Regions from separate parts of the Homo sapiens genome. Here region 2 is linked to region 1. The links are contacts of gene promoters, found by promoter capture Hi-C in blood cells and fetal thymus (Javierre and others, 2016). All regions are on one chromosome and are shown on one strand. Each heading gives the region's core, a stretch centred on a gene start or on the middle of the fragment in contact. The rest is flanking DNA. Distances are from core to core; before and after follow the strand shown. Region 1 holds the start of SEC23A (SEC23 homolog A, COPII component). Region 2 overlaps PSMA3 (proteasome 20S subunit alpha 3).

The links. Contacts are between HindIII fragments. The CHiCAGO score rates a contact against its expected background, and 5 or more counts as called.
Region 2: a contact is called between a fragment that was not itself captured here and the fragment with the promoter of SEC23A in region 1, in 1 of 17 cell types (monocytes). The highest score is 8.6, in monocytes.

The regions. Positions count from the first base shown.
Region 1 is chr14:39,099,216-39,105,900 of GRCh38, forward strand. SEC23A (SEC23 homolog A, COPII component) reads right to left here and starts at 4,020. Exons shown (of 20, transcript NM_006364.4): 1 at 3,817-4,020. It overlaps SEC23A-AS1 (SEC23A antisense RNA 1), which reads left to right and starts at 3,925. Exons shown (of 2, transcript NR_146545.1): 1 at 3,925-4,156; 2 at 4,330-4,597. RefSeq lists silencers at 3,626-3,705, 3,726-3,845, 4,006-4,235. The HindIII fragment of the contact is 19,881 bases long and covers 524-6,685 here.
Region 2 is chr14:58,253,260-58,259,944 of GRCh38, forward strand. It overlaps PSMA3 (proteasome 20S subunit alpha 3), which reads left to right. Exons shown (of 11, transcript NM_002788.4): 4 at 4,486-4,587; 5 at 4,666-4,739. Among named protein-coding and RNA genes, the nearest start is that of PSMA3, 12 kb to the left of the region's middle. The HindIII fragment of the contact is 2,420 bases long and covers 2,122-4,541 here.

The DNA of each region.
Region 1 (6,685 bases), core at 2,770-5,269:
TGGGGCAATCTCAGCTCACTGCAACCTCTGCCTCCCGGGTTCAAGCGATTCCCCTGCCTCAGCCTCCCAAGTAGCTGGGACTACATGCGCGTGCCACCATACCCAGCTAATTTTTTGTATTTTTAGTAGAGACAGGGTTTCACCATGTTGGCCAGGATGATCTCAATTGTCTGACCTCGTGATCCGCCGGCCTCGGCCTCCCAAAGTGCTGGGATTACATGCTTGAGGCACCGCTCCCCGCCATTAAATTGTTTTAAAACTTGTGCCTGCTACCATAAGCTTGACAAGTTCCTAATATGTAAAGATTTTTCTGATGAGATCAGTGTTGGTATTAATGTAATTTGTTTGATAGTATATAACAAAATGTATTAACATTTAGAAGATATACATTACTCAGTGAAGCAATATCTTCCAAACCGTCAATTTGTGATATGAAAATATCACACATGGGTAGATGATCCATTCAAAGTGTAGAATAGGCCAATGAGTTTTAAGGTAACAAAGTACAAAAAGGTCACTCCTAAGCTTTCAGATTCCACACTGCAATTAACCTTTTAATTTATTAATTAATCCTTCATACAATTCAACCAAAACAATATATCACAATAAACTGCAGAAACAGATATGAAAACCCACCTGTCTTCTATTTAGCCTTTTTTTTTTCTCTTTGGATACTCAATAATGTTTAAGTTAGGGGTTCTGAAAACCACTGCCTTAGGACCATTAGGAAACCTCACTAAGAAAGGTTCCAGGAGTCTTAGCAGGAAGACATTCACACACAGACAATAGCCAGGTTTAACTTTCTACAACTGGTTAAAAGGCTGGATTGTATCTCTACATTCTTACTTCTTATTAAGACATACTAAATATCACCTGAGTGATATCTGGGCACAACTCTCTTCTCTTCTTCACATTTTTTCCTCTCAATCTCCCTGCTCTAAGATCAATTTGCTTGCTAAATCACATCTATTATACTTCTTACATTCCCACATTCCAGCAGTAGTTTGAAGAAAATCCCACCTGTTTCTCAATTGGTCCAATTACATGGCTATGCACAACACTTCCCTGACTTCCCTCACCTTTCCATAGTAGGAGTCATGCAATCTTAAAATCACGAATTCAATTACAAAATTTGCCAGGCTTAGTCCCATGTCCGACAATGGCATATCTGAAATAAAGTCCTTTTACAAGCCAACTTAACTTTTTTTTTTTTTTTGAGACGGAGTTTCGCTCGTTGCCCAGGCTGGAGTGCAATGGCGTGATCTCGGCTCACCGCAAACTCCTCCTCCCGGATTCAAGCAATTCTCCCGCCTCAGCCTCCTGAGTAGCTGGGATTACGGGCATAAGCCACCACACCTGGCTAATTTTTGTATTTTTAGTAGAGATGGGGTTTCTCCATGTTGGTCAGGCTGGTCTCGAACTCCCAACCTCAGGTGATCCACCCACCTCAGCCTCCCAAAGTGCTGGGATTACAGGTGTGAGCCACCATGCCCAGCCACAAACTAGCTTTTCATAACATGATATTATTTGATAAGCACTCTCTCCCCTAATACTAACATGTTTGCATAAAAGTATTAAACCAAAGAAATATTATTCCACACACTATATTAGAATGCAGACTTAGCATATTAGTCTCTTTTTTTTTTGAGATGGAGTCTCACTCTATCACCCAGGTTGGAGTGCAGTGGTGCAATCTCGGCTCACTGCAACCTCCACCTCCCGGGTTCAGGCGATTCTCCCGCCTCAGCCTCCCCAGTAGCTGGGATTACAGGCGTGAGCTACTACACCCAGCTAATTTTTGTATTTTTAGTAGAGATGGGGTTTCACCACGTTGGCCAGGCTGGTCTCGAACTCCTGACCTCAGGTGATTGGCCTGCCTCGGCCTCCCAAAGTGCTGGGATTACAGGCGTAAACTGCCGCACCCAGCCACTAGTCTTTATTTTTTTTAAAAAGTGATACAAAACACAAAAGACTATTACAAAGAAATGTCCAATTTCAGTACAATATACTTTGGTTAAATAATTTATCATAATAGAGCTAAAAGCTAAGAAGCAAACCACTATGTCACTTTAACCTAGTATATCAAATATGTGCCCAAGTCTTTTAAAAGTAAGACTTCCCTGGCCGGGCGCGGTGGCTCACACCTGTAATCCCAGCACTTTTGGAGGCCGAGGAGGGTGGATCATGAGGTCAGGAGATCGAGACCAGCCTGGCCAATATGGTTAAACCCCGTCTCTACTGAAAATACAAAAATTAGCCAGGCATGGTGGCGGTCGCCTGTAGTCCCAGCTACTCAGGCGGCTGAGACAGGAGAATAGCTTAGCTTGTACCTGGGAGGCGGAGGTTGCAGTGAGCCGAAATCGTTCCACTGCACTCCAGCCTGGGTGACAGAGCGAGACTCCGTCTCAAAAAAAAAAAAAACAAAAAAGACTTTCCCTATGATAGTTTTTCAATATTCTAATTTTAAGCCCTTTTATTCATATCTAATTGAAAATGTACTTGCCAAGTAAATTTGAGTTCCTTCCAATTACATGTATTTGTTAGTTGCCAATTAAATTTGTCTCCTACTTTTCACTTCCAAAATCCTCAATGAATTGTCTTCTTATGATCTTGGACAATTAACCTCTCTGAATCCTGTTTTTCTCATCAGCAAAATAAGAGACTTGGACTAGAAAATCACAAGGTCCCATCTAACTCTAAAATTCTGTAAGTCAATTAAAAATAGCTGGACTCTGGCCGGGCGCAGTGGCTCATGCCTGTGATCCCAGCACTTTGGGAGGCCGAGGCGGGCGGATCACCTGAGGTCAGGAGTTCGAGACCAGCCTGGCCAACATGGTGAAACCCCGTCTCTACTAAAGATACAAAAATTAGCCGGGCATAGTAGCTCGCCCCTGTAATCCCAGCTACTCGGGAGGCTGAAGCAGGAGAATCGCTTGAACCAGGGAGGCGGAGGTTGCAGTGAGCCGAGATTGCGCCACTGCACTCCAGCCTGGGCGACAAAGCAAGACTCCGTCTCAGAAAAAAAAAAAATAGCTGGACTTCTGAAATGATGTTCATTCACTACCAGAGGAGAAAGAGAAGGAAAACTCAACATGCATTTATATTTAAATCTAAAACCTTTTTAAACCAAGTTAATTTGGCTAGTTATCCATGGCTTTGGACGGTAGAGGTTGAGGGAGTTCAAGTGAAAACGAGAATTCCACATCCCCACTTCAGTGATTGATGTAGATTTACTATGACCTTCCTCAGGCAGTACCTTTACCACCAAATCGGGAAACACTACCTACCGTAGAAAGAAAGCCCAGTGAGATAGGGCTGGTCCTGCTGGAAAACTGAACTCTTTGTAATCAAAACCCAAGGCATTATCTTTACCAAGCTCTTTTCCCCTTTAACCCCTTTAACTTCCAAGGCTGAATTACGGTGACGTAGTCAATTGGGTTCAAAGTCTAGGACACTCCATATCTGGCAAGGAATGAAACAGTAAGTCCAAGGGCCCAGAGGCGATGATGGACTTGGGTGGAGGTGGGTGGCCCAGGAGGTGGGGGTGGGTGCTGGGCGAGATGCTCGAACCACCGTTTTCCACATCTTTCCACCTAATCCAGGGGAGCTGGAGGAGGCCGGGCCCCCGGCCCCGGCAGAGCGAAGTGGGTGAGAGGGTGGCAAGCTCAGCACTCAACGCTCCCCGCGCCGGACCGGGCCTCAGCCTCCAGCACACCTCGCTGGCCCCGGGGCACCGAGAGGGCAGAGCCGGGACCACCCCAGGATCCCAGCCCCCAGCCCGCCGCCGCCAGCCCGCCCCCGCTCCCCGCTGCGCACCTGCGGTCCCCCAGGAGCGGAGACGAGGCGGCCCTTTCCTCACTGTCCCCCTGCAGGACCCGTCGCAGCCTCCGCTTTGCAAAATCTGTCCTCTCCGCCCAGCAGGAGCAGTCCGTGGCACCGCAATCAGGGGTGGCGCCACCCCGCCCCGGGCCTCAGCGAAGACCTCCGCCCGGCCAACATGGCTGGCGCCGCCTCTGCCACGTCAAGAGGAGGGGACGGGGCGTGAGGGCAGGAAGGGGGCAGGAAGGGGCGGGCGCAGAGTTACCAGGGCAGGCCACCGGACCCCTGAGCTTGCTTAATAACCGGAGGATTTGAGAAAGGCGCGCGGCGGGCGAAGGTACCGAGAGGGGAGGAGGGAGGAGAGGTAGCGGGGACCGAGCCAGAGGGGCGGAAGAACCCGGAAGACCCAGGCAGCCGGACGGCCGAGGGGCGTGGGACCGGGCAGAGCGGGACCGGGAGAGAGCGCCTTTCCCAGCTCCCTAAAGCCACAGCGTATCCCACTCCCTGCAGGTCGCAGAAAGAGTGGAGAACTGGTGCCACTCGGACACCTTAGCTCACCGAGAGAAATGGAGACGGCCTCCAGGACATCTTAGGACCCTGGTTGATTCCGAGAATCACAAATCACATCTCTGAAAAAAGTGAAAAGTTCATTCTTTCACTTAGTGCAACAAATGTTTACTGAAACTTACTATGTGCCAGACACAATTGAGATGCTGGTAATATGATGCAGGCAAAGTAGGCCCAGATCCCTGGCCCGAAAGAATTCACGTACTATTTATGTATTTTAGTCAGCCTGTCTTTTCCTCCTACATTGCCTCTGCCACTTCAACTCTGTCTCCCCCCACCCCCAAAACACACACACAGTACAATATTTGGCTGATTCATCTTGATATGTTCAATGTTTTTCTTTCCAAGAAAAAAGTTGAACAAAATGAGAAAGCAACAGATTGGTAAGACATTAGAGCTTGGTGGTCTCAGACAACCCCTTCCTTCAGTGAGGGGAATGAAATTAAGTGCCCATGGAATTAATTGCATATATGACAACGCCTAAAAGCCTGCAAAGTTTAGCCATATCAACATTTTATGGAATGGAAAAAAAGATCAAGTCCCTGTCCTTGAAAGCTCATATTCATGAGAAATAAGACAGCAGCACCAGGCTGGGCGCGGTGGCTCACGCCTGTAATCCCAACACTTTGGGAGGCGGAGGCAGGCGGATCACAAGGTAAGGAGTTCGAGACCAGCCTGGCCAACATAGTGAAACACCGTCTCTACTAAAAATACAAAAATTAGCCGGGTGTGGTGGCACGCTCCTGTAGTCCCAGCTACTCGGGAGGATGAGGCAGAAGAATTGCTTGAACCCGGGAGGCGGAGGTTGCAGTGAGCCGAGACCACGCCATTGCACTCCAGCCTGGGTGACAGAGTGAGACTGTCTCAAAAAAAAAAGCACCAAACATATTTCCCTTTCTATAATGTGTGTACTAAAGTTGTTTTGGAAGGTGGAAGAGGATGTTTGCTTGTCAAATTGTAATACAATCCTGAAGAGGGCAATGGGAATCGAAAGCCAAAAATTAGTGTAGGCTTCCAAATAAAGTAGGTTCAAGGTGCTACCTTAATGAAGATTCTTAACAGCACACAGCAGAGGTGTTGTTATAAAGGTGGAATAAGTACACCCACCAAAAGCGACAAGATCTAAGAATGAGTAGGATAAAAAGATCTTAGTCCATTTAGGCTGCTAACACAAATGCCCTCAACTGGGTAGCTCATAAACAACAGAAATTTATTTCTGACTGTCCTGGAGGCTGAGAAGTCCAGGATCAAGATGCCAGCAGATTTGGTGTCCGGTGAGGACCTGCTTTCTGATTCATAGATGGTGCCTTCTTTGTTCTCACATGGCAGAAGGGGCTGGCTAGCTCTCTGGGGTCTCTTTTACAAGGGTACTAATCCCATTCATGAGAGGCCAGCCCTCATGACCTGTTCACCTCCCAAAGGCCCTACCTCCCTATACCATCACCTTAGCAGTTAAGATTTCAACCTATGAGTTTGGTAGGACACAAATATTCAGACCATAGCAACATTGATGAGAAGATCCACAGAAATCCTGGAATCCAGCGAGGAATAAATCAAAGCATAGTACCTTTGGTAGATTCATTCATTTCATGGTTCCCAGAAAGGCATCTTTACCATCCAGCTCAATGAAGTCTTTTCAAAAACTCATCATTCCTGGCCAGGCACAGTGGCTCACGCCGGTAATCCCAGCACTTTGGGAGGCCGAGGTGGGCAGATCACGAGGTCAGGAGATCAAGACCATCCTGGCTAACATGGTGAAACCCTGTCTCTACTAAAAATACAAAAAATTAGCCAGACATAGTTGCGGGCGCCTGTAGAGCCAGCTACTCGGGAGGCTGAGGCAGGAGAAATGCGTGAACCCAGGAGGTGGAGCCTGCAGTGAGCAGAGATCGCCCCACTGCACTCCAGCCTGGGCGACAGACCGAGATTCCATCTCAAAAAAAAAACAAAAAAAAATTCATCATTCCTTTGTTTTCAGTTGATCAAAGGTTTTAATTCCCTATTACAATGAAATAGATGTTAGGATGCATAACAAACTCAGTTGCATCTGTCTTTATGTGCTTTAAGATGAATGACTTTAAGTCCAGGCGCAGCGGTTCACACCTGTAATCCCAGCACTTTGGGAGGCTGAGGCAGGTGGATCACAAGGTTAGGAGTTCAAGACCAGCCTGGCCAAGATGTTGACACCCCATTTCTACTAAAAATACAAAAATTAGCCAGGCGCAGTGGCAGGCGCCTGTAATCCCAGCTACTCAGGAGGCTGAGGCAGGAGAATCACTTGAATCCAGGAGGCAAAGGT
Region 2 (6,685 bases), core at 2,082-4,581, about 19 Mb after region 1:
ATTATAGGCGTGAGCCACTGCGCCCGGCCTAATGCCATTTTCACAGGTGAAAAAACAGATGCACAGCAAGTAAAGAAAAGCTGGGATTCAAACTTGGGTCTGCATGTTACTCAAGAGCCCTTTCTAAATGAAAAGACACCTTATATGACCCACATCGTTCAGCTGATAGCTTTCTTATATCTAAATGAGATTTAATGTTACACACAAACACAAAAAGTACTGGTAAAGTATAACCAGTAAACCATAAAGCTAATTTTTTTCTTCTTCAAAGATTATTTTATCTCAACAATATGTTTCTCCTGAACAGATTTTTTTATTTTGCTGCAAATGACAGGATTTTATTTTATTTTTTGAGATGGAGTCTCACTCTGTCATCCAGGAAGGAGTGCAATGGCGCGATCTCAGCTCACTGCAACCTCTGCCTCCCGGGTTCAAGCAATTCTCCTGCCTCAGACTCTCAAGTAGCTGGGATTACAGACATACGCCGCCACACCCAGCTAATTTTTGTATTTTTAGTAGAGACGGGGTTTCACCATGTTGGTCAGGCTGGTCTCGGACTCCTGAACTCCAGTGATCTACCCGCCTTGGCCTCCCAAAGTGCTGGGATTATAGGCGTGAGCCAGCGTGCCCAGCCTAGCATTTTATTCTTTTTAAAGGATGAATAGTATTCCATTGTGTATATATACATTTTCTTTTTACTGTTTTTTTGTTGTTGTTGTTGTACAGATTTTTCTCGTCACCCAGGTACTAAGCCTAGGACCCAATAGTTATTTTTTCTGATCCTCTTCCTCCTCCCACCCTCCACCCTCAAGTAGGCCCCATTGTCTGTTGTTCCTGTCTTTGTATCCATGAATTCTCATCATTTAGCTTCCACTTATAAGAGAGAACATGTGGTTTTTGGTTTTCTCTTCTTGTATTAGTTTGCTAAGAATAATGCTGAACAGATTTATTATTGCCAGTGAAACTGATATGTTTTGATGAAACTTGCTACATTGTAACCTAGCTAGTAGGAGGTGATCTTGTATTCTTTTATGTACTAGCAAAAGTTAATATTTTGAAAAAAATTATGCATGCATATATATATGTATGTACACACACACAGAGGTCTTGCTCTGTTGCCCAGGCTTGAGTGCAGTGGCATGATCATAGCTCACTGCAGCCTTGCGCTCCTGGGCTCAAGTGATTCTTCTGCCTCAGCCTCCCAAATAGCTGTGACTACAAGTGTGCCATCACACCTGGCTAATTTTTTAGTTTTTTTAAGAGATATGATCTTGCTGTGTTGCTCAGGCTGGTCTTGAACTCCTGGGCTCAAGCGATCCTCCCGCCTCAGCTTCTTGAGTTGCTGAGATTACAGGCATGAGCCAATGTGCCCTGTCAACATTAGACATTGAAGAGGGCTGGAGAAAATTAAGACTTAATATCCTCCCTCCTTCCACAGTTGTCATCTTCAAGTGATTTGAGAATTATATGACTTTACAGTAAGCTTTCTCTAAAGCAACAGAAGATTCTTTAAGTGATGTAACTTACTGGCATGGGTTACCTTGGGGAAGCTATTCTAAACACGCGTTTCCTTGTCTGCAAAACAAGAGTGATAATAGTACTTGGCACATACAGTTGTTGTGAGGTTAAAAATTATTATGCAAAATGCTTAACATGTAATGAGTGCTCAGTATCTCTTAGTAATTATCATTATTACTATTACTGGGTAGCGTAGGAAAAAAAGGCTATTAAAGATTGTGATACCACTTTTAAATTCTGTAACTGTCCTGGGCTAGAGGGTTTCAAAAACTTGGTTGGTTTATGGTACCTTAAGTGTCTCAGTAGTTTTTCTCATGGCTTCCCTAGGCCGAAAATACCTAATGGTTTCATTTATTAAGTATTTAGATCCAAAGAACTTAGTGTTTACATCCTAAAAACTTAGTAGCCGTTTTTTTTTTTTAAATACACACATAGTGAAAAATATTTTTATTTAAAAATTAAAATGTTTTATTTTAAGCAACCAAAATTTCTAGTATATACACTGCACAACCTCCCAAATTTGGATGTGGCCACTGTCATTTCCTGTTCCACACTGATTTTTGCACAGTACTTACTTTTTTTCACAGCAACCACTAACAGCCAAGCTTCTCAAAGATGTGGTGGCATTGAAAGGAATGTAGTAAAACGATCTAATGTTCAAACGGAACTACTTGGACATTTTTCTCCAAACTTAGAATGTGCCACACTAGGCCAGGTGCAGTGGCTCACACCTGTAATCCCAGCACTTTCGGAGGCCAAGGCGGGCGGATCACCTGAGGTCGAAAGTTCAAGACCAGCCTGACCAACATGGAGAAACCCTGTCTCTACTAAAAACACAAAAATTAGCCGGGCGTGGTGGCGCATGCCTGTACTCCCAGCTACTCGGGAGGCTGAGGCAGGAGAATCCCTTGAACCTGGGAGGTGGAGGTTGCGGTGAGCCGCGATTGCACCACTGTGCTCTAGCCTGGGCAACAAGAGCAAAACTCCATCTCAAAAAAAAAGATATGCCACACTAACATGTGATTTCACTGCAGTGCCTGAGGACCTCTCGGCACATACATAGTAACTGCAATTCTGTTTTTGTTTTTGTTTTTGTTTTGAGACAAAGTCTCATTCTGTTGCTCAGGCTGGAGTGTAGTGGCGTGATCTCGGCTCACTGCAGCCTCCGCCTCCCGAGTTCAAGTGATTCTTGTGGCTCAGCCTTGGGAGTAGGTAGGATTATAGGTGCCCGCCACCAAACCTGACTAATTTTTGTATTTTTAGTAGGGGTTTCACCATGTTGTCCAGGCTGGTTTCAAACTCCTGACCTCAGGTGATCCCCCTGCCTCGGCCTCCCAAAGTGCTGGGATCACAGGCATGAGCCACCGTGCCCGGCCTAGTAACTGCAGTTCTAAGCCGCAAATCTTGAAAGAGGAATGGTTTATCATTGTAGTTTATTCAGCCAATAGGCTGAAAAAAGATTTGCGATTGTGCCTTTTAGAACAAAACAGTTACAGGTTGAGTATCTCTCGTCTAAAATGCTTGGGACCAGCAGTATATCGGATATTTTTCGATTTTGGAATATCTGCATTATATACTCATCAGCTGAGCATCCTTAATCTGAAAATTCAAAATCCAAAAAGCTCTACTGAGCATTTCCTTTTTTTTTTTTTTTTGAGATGGAGTCTCGCTCTGTTGCCCAGGATGGAGTGCAGTGGCGCGATCTCGGCTCACTGCAACTTCCGCCTCCCAGGTTCAAGCAATTCTCTGCCTCGGCCTCCCAAGTAACTGGGATTACAGGTGCCTGCAACCACGCCTGGCTAATTTTTGTATTTTTAGTAGAGACGGCATTTCACCATCTTGGCCAGGCTGGTCTTGAACTCGTGACCTTGTGATCCACCTGCCTCAGCCTCCCAAAGTGCTGGGATTACAGGTGTGAGCCACCAGGTCCGGCCTGAGCATTTCCTTTGAGTGTCATGTTGGCACTCAAAAAGTTTCAGATTCTGAAGCGTTTTAAATTTCAGATTTTTGGATTAGATATCCTCAACCTGTAATAACTTTAGAGAAAAGAACAAATTTGGGCCGGGCACGGCGGCTCACACCCATAATCCCAACATTTTGGGAGGCTGAGGCAGGCTGATCACCTGAGGTCAGGAGTTCAAGACCAGCCTGGCCAACATGACAAAACCAAACCCTGTCTCTACTAAAAATATAAAAATTAGCCAATCCCAGCTACTGGGGAGGCTGAGGCAGGAGAATCCCTTGAACCTGAGAGGCAAAGGTTGAAGTGAGCCCAGATGGTGCCATTGTGCTCCAGCCTAGGTGACACAGTGAGACTCTGTCTCAAAAAAAAAAAAAAAAAAAAATCTGACCAAGACCCATGGTTTTTATTCGTTATAATGAGGTAGTGGTAGTAAATCAGGGGAAGAGGATTTATGATAGAAGTAGTCCTGAATATTGGCCGGGCACGGTGGCTCACGCCTGTAATCCCAGCACTTTAGGAGGCTGAGGCAGGCAGATCACGAGGTCAGGAGATCAAGACCGTCCTGGCTGACATGGTGAAACCCCATCTCTACTAAAAATACAAAAAAATTAGCCGGGCGTGGTGGCAGGCGCCTGTAGTCCCAGCTACTCAGGAGGCTGAGGCAGGAGAATGGCATGAACCCAGGAGGCAGAGTGTGAAGTGAGCGGAGATCATGCCACTGTACTCCAGCCCTGGTGACAGAGCGAGACCCCGTATCAAAAAAAAAAAAGGAAATGTCCTGAATATGAACATTGGACAAAGCAATGAAGTTATACTTACTAAATTTCTAAATTATAATTTCATACTCAAGCATCAAAATGCCTTGTAGAGAGACCTTTAAGCCAAAAAAGTTTATTTTGAATGGTAATACTTGTTAAAAAAATGTTTAATAAGTCTTTATTAATTGCAGACTTTGATTTGTGATAGGAATGTGTTCCTCTAGTAAATTGGTGCTTTTTTTTCAGGCAGTAGCAGGTTTGTTGGCAGATGCTCGTTCTTTAGCAGACATAGCAAGAGAAGAAGCTTCCAACTTCAGATCTAACTTTGGCTACAACATTCCACTAAAAGTAAGTTGATAACATATTGAGGAACCTTTTGGACAGTAATAGAAGTTTATTAATAAGCTCTTCTGCTTCCCTCCATAGCATCTTGCAGACAGAGTGGCCATGTATGTGCATGCATATACACTCTACAGTGCTGTTAGACCTTTTGGCTGCAGGTAAGAAATTTTGTGAATTATTCAAAAGGCAGATCTGTACTATAGATATTTATTATGTTCCCCAGCATCTTAGCCTTTTACATACTTAAAAATAGAAACTCGTCGATAAGTATTAGGGCAATGATTAAATAAAACAGTGTACATAGAAACTACTTGAGGCTGGGTGCCATGGCTCAAGCCTGTAATCCCAGTACTTTGGGAGGTTGAGGTGGGAGGATCCCTCGCGCCCAGGAGTATGAGACCAGCCTGGCCAACGCAGTGAGAACCTATCTCTACAAAAAAAATTTAAAATTTAGCCAGGTGCAGTATCACATGCCTGTAGTCACAGCTACTTAGGAGCTGCTTGAGAGGATCATTTGAGCCCAGGAGTTGAAGGCTGGAATGAGCTGTGGCCATACCACTGTACTCTAGCTGGCGCAATAGAGACTCTGCCTCTTTAAAAAAAAAAAAAAAAAAAAAAAAAAGGTTTCAATAGTGAAAAGGACTATATAGATCTGAAGTGATTATAAAACAAGGAACTGATAACAATGACTTTAATCTGATTATAATAAGCTCTCGGTGTTAGTCCCTGATATTCTTAGGTAATTTTAAAAATTACGTCTCACAATTCCCATTAGGCACGGTTTCTCTTTCTGTTGAAGTGCTGATATTTTATTGTGGGGTAAAGTGGAGATTCAGCTGCATAAAGACCTGGAATAGGTATAAATATTCAAATTTGGCTTCACAGAGAAGACTTGTGACTAGATTTTTCTAAAATGAAAAGACATGTTTGGCTTATGACTTAAAACAGTCAAACATGTTTGGTCAAAATAATACATATACTAACATCTGAGTGCTCAGCTGTAGTCCTACCTTTGAGTTGTTTATCATCAGTCATATTTAATTACTAAGATATTAAAGAAAACTTGAGTTTTATTCTATTGGTAATATTACATTAGGGTTTTGTTTTTACTTTTTGAGACAGTTACTGTCACCTGAGCTGGAGTGCAGTGGTGCCATCATGGCTGACTGCAGCTTTGACCTGGCTCAAGCGATGCTCCTACCTCAGCCTCCCAAGTAGCTGGGACCACAGGCATGGGCCACCATGCCTGGCTAATTAACAAAATTTTTTTTTGTAGAGACGGGGTCTCACCATGCTGCCCAGGCTGACATTAGTCATTCTTAAGCTTCTCAGTTAAATTACATTATGAAACACTTTGTTTTCAGACCATGTAAAATACCTTTCAACTGAGCTCTGAGTTCATCAGTTAACTTCTCTACTCTTTTTAAGGGAGTAAGAATAGTAGAGATAACTTTTTTTCATAACTTTTTTTTTGTTTGTTTTGTTTTGTTTTGAGATGGAGTCTCGCTCTGTCGCCCAGGCTGGAATGCAGTGGCACGATCTCAGGTCACTGCAACCTCTGCCTCCCGGGTTCAAGCTATTCTCCTGCCTCAACCTCCTGAGTAGCAGGGATTACAAGCACCTGCCACCACGCCCGGCTAATTTTTTTATTTTTAGTACAGTCAGGGTTTCGCCATGTTGGCCAGGCTGGTCTCAAACTCCTGACCTCAAGTGATCCACCTCAGCCTCCCAAAGTGCTGGGATTACAGGCGTGAGCCACCGCACTGGGCCAGAGAGAACTTTTTTAGTAAACATCTATTGGGCACTGAGTTAGTCATAAATGTGGAGACACAGGTGTGAAGTCACATTGATAAAATATTAGTGATATGATAAAGGGACAACAATTAGGGAACGGACTCTTTCTGGACAGGAGGCAAGGAAGAGTGTGAGATGTAGGGAGACTTGGTAGTTGCAAGCACAGGAACTGGTATGAAAATACGTGCGCCAGAGAGAGTTAAGTATGCTTGGTGTGTAGAGTATGAGGTTTAGAGATGATACTGATGTAGGAAGGGGTCCAGTCATATAAAAGTCTGTGCTCCATGCTGATTTTCTTCAAAGAAATGTT